2 separate regions of the Homo sapiens genome follow, and region 2 is linked to region 1. The links are contacts of gene promoters, found by promoter capture Hi-C in human tissues and cell types (Jung and others, 2019). All regions are on one chromosome and are shown on one strand. The core of a region is centred on a gene start or on the middle of the fragment in contact, and the rest is flanking DNA. Distances in the headings are between cores, read along the strand shown.

Region 1 (2,954 bases), core at 259-2,758:
CAGGGGAGGTACTGGCCAAGGTGCTGAACAGAGTGGGGCACTGGCCAAGGTGCTGAACAAAGGGAGGCTTGGCCAAGGTGCTGAATTAAACACCTGATGGTAAACTCATTGAGGTCCAGTGACAGCCAAGCACCACTGACACTCACAGCCTTAAACTGAGAACATTCTACAAACCCCCGGCAGAAGGGTAAAAGATTTTACACTCAGCTGCCATTTCTGCCTTTTCAAAACTGCTTCTTGTTCTTGTCCTCACTCACTCAGGGGTATGGCCACAGCAGAAAGGAATGACCTTGCTCAAATAGGGAGTCCAGGTATCCCATTTGAGGAGGTGTAATTCATTTTCCCCCACATGACTCACTTTAGTGCCTTAGCTACTTTGAAGTAAAGACAGAACACAACACTTAGGAGCACCATCGCGGCAACCAGTAAGCTGCTTCCGATGCCGATCATGATCTTCGTCCTGAGATCAAACATCTTTGCCATGCCTAAGGAGAAAGTGCAGGGAAGCAGAACGTGGCCTTCCTCCCCACACAGCCACTAAACAACCTTCCGTTAGTAGAGGAAGAGTGAACCCCAGACACATGTAAACTGCAAGCAAATCTTTCCAGAGAGTCCTAGGATCCTAAGCTGGTCCAGGGGCAGACAAAAGGACTTATTTATGGGTAAAAATGGACTTAAATGCAAACTCCAGAGGGAAGGAAATCATAATGACAGACAGTGGGAAGAATCTTTCCCTCTCACAGGCATGATGTGCAGCTGGAAATGACCACAGGCCTGCCTTGGAGCTGATGACTTCACTCCCCACCACCTGGGCCCTGAAATATGTTCACTCAGAGGGTCAGAAGTCACCCCTCACTGTATATTAGGTTTAAAATTATTTTATGAAACTAAGAGAATTAGTTTAAAAAGTATTGTCCAACAATACTGAGAATATGAAAATCTATTTTGTAAGTGATAAGTATTTTGGGAAAAACAGTTTTCAATTTTCCCACCAACAACTGGGTTATCTCAGGGTTTAAGGAGATTCCTGACACTTCCAGCCAAACCTTTGCCAGGGCTCAGAAATGGGACGTGGTCTGCAGAGACCAGGAGCCAGCTTATTCAGGAGCCCCTGTCCCTCATTCTGTCTTCCTAGTAGACCATAGGCCTACCTCTGCCATTTTTCCTAGTAAATACTAAATTCTCCCAGGAAACCCAATTTGTTTGGAATAAGTAATTTGCTTAATCTAACACTGTGAAACTGAGGAACAGTGAGCCAGGAGAGAAGAATAACCAATCTGATAGCTAAGCATACTTACTACAGTTCAACCATCCAGAGCTAGATGAAGGCCAATTGTAACAATAAAATTAAGGGAAAAAAACCTCTAGGGCATCGGATATTTGGAACTTCTCAAACCTGTAATCTGAGAAAGAGGGACCTAATTATCCCTGCTAGGAGTAATTAAGATCCAAGGTTGAACAGCTCAGCTCACTTTTGGAAGCTCAGGCTCAGCCAGAGCTGGTAGAATGGGCCTATTCTGACATTCATGCCACAGGCTGTGTGACATCAGCTCTCGGGACACCAGCTGTCTTTCATGGAGTTCTGAATTCTATTCCATAGGTATATTTTTGCTTTTGTGAAATATAAATACTATTTTGAATCACTTAATTCTAAGTCTTTCACCTTTTCAGGTCTTATTTCCCTTCCATTAATTTTTGGAGTTTGACTGCTAATCAAAATCAAGTTTGAGATTTCAATTTAGCAAATAAAAGAAAAAGAAATGTGGGAAGGGTAAAATAACCTCACATTTAAATTTCAATTATAGAAGACTGGTTAGACTTTAGATTTTAGTTGCACAATGAAATAATATGGAGCCGTTTACTAGGATTCAAGCACACTTCCATTGACATGGGAAGATTTTAATGCTTTATAGTTAAAAAAAGTACAAAAATGAAAGTTGAACAGGATATCTGTTCTAGTCTGGTTTGTATGATTTTAAGGTACTTATATCCAGCCAGTGTAGTAAAATTAAATGAAGAGACACCAGGTTCAAGGAAGATTGTGTAGACATGTTTCTCCCTGCTAAGCATAACTATTATTCCTGGAAATAACACAAATCAAACAAAGGAGAACTCTGAAATTGGAAAGGAGAAAGCAAACTACTAGGGACCCCAGGCCTGGGTAAGCTCCATAGCAGTAGAACAGGGGAGGTAGACAGGCCTGGTGTTTTCCAATGCTCAATCTAGCTTATTCCATTCCCGGATTTAATGTGAGTCCTGCTGACAACCCCAGGCTTTCCCAGCAGCAGTGGCAAGTTGGGTGGATTGTGAACCCCATTGGCAATAAGCCTGCAGGGGAAGTGCTCATCTTCCTTGCTAGTCATGAGACTCCCCTCCTCAGACCCTGCAGGGATCTGACCACATTCAGTGACCTAGCCCAGGAAGCACTCTGTTCCCATGTGCTAGAGACCCCCCTGGACTCCAGGTGGCTCCAGCTTGGGGACCCTCCTTCTGTCCCTCAGGCAGCACTTTCGGGGACCTAGAAGCCCCAGTGACACCAGATAAATGAAGTAGACCAAAATATCACCACGAAACCTCTGAAAATTAAATTGGAATTGGAATCTAATCCCACAAAAGTAAGCCAGGATCTGCATGCTAAACCTAGTCAGTGACTAACTAATAAAATAAAATATTTAAATAGGACCTAGAGTCTCCTAGCATAAAGTCAAAATGTCCATGATTCAATGAAAATGGTATTACGGGTATTATCGCCCGTAATACCAATAACCAGAAAAGTCACGCCCGAATGAGAAGAGACAATGAATTGATGTCCTGAGCATGGAATAAGTTTGGTGTGGTCAAGGAACAAGAAAAAGGCCATTTGACTGGAGATGCATAAAAGCGAAGATGGCAGGAGAGGACTTGGAAAAAATTGGCCAAGGATACCAACATGCAGGGCTTCGAGCTCTAGTATA
Region 2 (2,954 bases), core at 159-2,658, 36 kb after region 1:
AAGAGGGCCAAGCAAGCGCCTTGAGAGATCAAGTGCGTGGTTGGACCTTTGATTTTGGGTCTTACATGTTGACATGCTTCCAGGGTTGCATTATTTCTTGCTAATTCTTCCCTCAGGGTGGGCTGTCTGCATGCTCAGTGGCGTGCCAGCACTAGGGCGGGGCTGTATGCATAGTGTGTTTACTGGAGTTGTATGCATGCTCACTTGAAGCATTCTTCTCTTACCCATCAAATGTTCTTAGAAGGTCATATACCAGTTAAACTCTGCCATTTTGCCTCTTAGTGCACATGCTTGAACCCACTTGTCCAACTCCTGAGATCTTATCGGCAAGCCGTTGATCACCAGTTTCAGGGTTTTTTTTTTTAATTAGGAGACTGCCTTTCCCTAGTGCCAGCTGTGACCAATTATTATCAGACTACATTTTATTTAAAAGGAGTCTCTGGGGATACCCAAAGACAATGACAATGTGGAAACTCAAAGCAAGAATAGTAGATTGAAGCCTCTGACACTGATAACTACAGCAAACATTAAACACAGCCTAACTTCTAGTCAGATTGACATGAATCAAGTAGCCTGATTACCTCAGTTTCTATATATTCTTCCAGATATATTATGTCTGGCTTTCAACAAAGATTTACAAAGCACGGTAAAAGGCAAGAAAGAACAAGAAACAAAGGAAATATCAGAACCATTCTTACATATGATGCAGATTTTGTAATTCTCAAGTAGGGAATTTAAGGTAGCTATGATTGATATATAAGGGCTCTAATGGAAAAAGCAGATAGCATACAAGAGTGAATGGGTAATGTAAGCAGAGATATGGAAACTCTAAGGAAGATATAAAAGGAAATGATAGAAGTCAAAAAACAATGTGACAAATGAATGCCTTTGATGGGTTTATCAGGAGACTGGACAGGCCAAAGAATAAATGAGCTTGAAGAACTGTTAATAAAAACTGAAAAGCAAAGAAAATAGAGATGAAAAAGTAGACTATCCAAGAACTGCTGGACAGTTATAAAACTTGTAATAACATGTATAATGGTAATACCAGAAGTAGAAGAAAGAGAAGAGAGTAGAAGAAATATGTGAGAAATAATGGTTGGGAATTATCCAAAATTAATGACACCAAACCCGTTCTTAGAGCAGGAAGCTTGGAGAACACCAAGCAAGATAAATACTAAAAGGTCTGTACCAGGGGTGCCCCTGGGCTACCCTGGGAAAAGAAGAATTGTCTTGGGCCACACATAAAATGCAGTAACGCTAACAATGGCTGATGAGCTTAAAAATTGCAAAAAAAACCTCATGCTGTTTTAAGAAAGTTTACAAATTTGTGTTGGGTTGCATTCAAAGCCGTCCAGGGCCGTATACAGCCCGCAGGCTGTAGGTTGGACAAGCTTAGTCTGTACCTAGGCATATTATATTCAAGATGGGAAAACCAAAGTCAAAGAGTCATTGAAAGGAGCCAGAGGAAAAAATACATGCTATAGAGGAACAAGAAAAGAATTATATTTCTGATTAGAAACCAAGCAAGAAGGGACTGGAGTGAAATATTTACAATGTTGAAAGAGAAATCACACCAACCTAGAATGTATCCACAAGAATTACCTTTCAGAAGTGAAGGAGACTTAAAGATTTTCTTAAACAAAAGCTAAGGAAATTTGTCAGTGATAAACCTGTGTTGCAAAAAATATTAAAATAAGTTCTCCAGAGGGAAGGAAAATGATCCAAGGTCATGAACTTGGATCTATATAAAGGAAGAGCATCAGAGAAGGAATAAATGAAGGCAAAATAAAATCCTTAATGTATATGTACCTAACAACAGAGCATCAAATATGTGAAGCAAAAATTGATAGAACTGCAAAGAGAAATAGACAAATTCACTATTACTCTTGGAGACTTCAACAACCCTGGATCAGTAATTGACAGTTTCAGCATGCAGAAAATCAGTAAGAATATAGTTGAACTGAATTGTACCATCTGTCCACTGGATCTAATTGGTATTAATAGGACACGTCAACAATAGCAGAATACACATTTTTCTGAAACACTCCTAGAACATTTACCAAGATAGAGCACATTCTAGGCCATAAAACACCCCTTAACAAATGTAAAAGAATAGAAATTATACAAAGTATGTTCCTAGATCACAATGGTATTTAATTAGAAATTTGTAACAGGAAAATACTTGAAAAATCCTAAAATATTTGGAGATTAACAGACATATTTCTAAAATAACACTTGGCTCGAAGTTTCAAGAGAAATTTAAAAATATTTCAAACTAAATGAAAGTGAAAATACAATTCATCAGAATTTGTAGAATTCAACAAGAGCAGTGCTTACAGGGAAACGGAGAGTACTGAGTACATGTTGGAAAAGAATGATCTAAAATCTATTATGTAAGCTTTCACCTTAAGAAACTAGAGAAAGAAGAGCAATATATAGGCACACCTAAGAGATACTGTGAGAAATTGCTATCTATGGCTACTAAAGCCTTATGAAATGTATTTCTTATACAATAAGACTTGAAAGTTGAAATTACTCCTTGATCCATGGGCTGCGGAATGGATGTTGTGTTGGTAGACATGAAAACATTAATCTCCTTGTACATCACCATCCGAGCTCTTGGGTGGCCCTGGCCAAGCATCAGTTAGCACTAATGTATTGAAAGGAACTTTTTTCTGAGCAGGAGGTCACAGCAGGGAGCTTAAAATATTCAGTAAACCAATGTGTTGTCATCCTGGTTTTGTTGTTCCATTTATAAAGCAAAGACAGAGCAGATTTAGCATAATTCTTAAGAGCCCTAGGATTTTCAGAATGGTAAATGAGCGTTGGCTTAAACTTGAAATCATCAGCTATATTAGTCCCCAGCAACAAAGTCAGCCTGACTTTTGAGTCAGAATCAGCTTTGAAGCCAGGCGTTGACCTCTCTAGCTGTGCAAGTCCTAGAGGGCATC

What was found. Contacts are between HindIII fragments. The study calls those that stand out against the background at their distance.
Region 2: a contact is called between a fragment that was not itself captured here and the fragment with the promoter of FAM24A in region 1, in 1 of the 25 tissues and cell types used here (heart left ventricle).

Annotation. Positions count from the first base shown.
Region 1 is chr10:122,909,164-122,912,117 of GRCh38, reverse strand. FAM24A (family with sequence similarity 24 member A) reads right to left here and starts at 1,508. Exons shown (of 3, transcript NM_001029888.3): 1 at 1,299-1,508; 2 at 359-485. The coding sequence starts at 483. RefSeq lists a silencer at 1-225. The HindIII fragment of the contact is 31,400 bases long and covers 1-2,954 here.
Region 2 is chr10:122,873,160-122,876,113 of GRCh38, reverse strand. All of the region lies in intron 1 of FAM24B (family with sequence similarity 24 member B), which reads left to right. The region is part of intron 1 of FAM24B-CUZD1 (FAM24B-CUZD1 readthrough); the gene reads left to right. Among named protein-coding and RNA genes, the nearest start is that of FAM24B, 4.9 kb to the left of the region's middle. RefSeq lists an enhancer at 1-324. The HindIII fragment of the contact is 4,775 bases long and covers 1-2,954 here.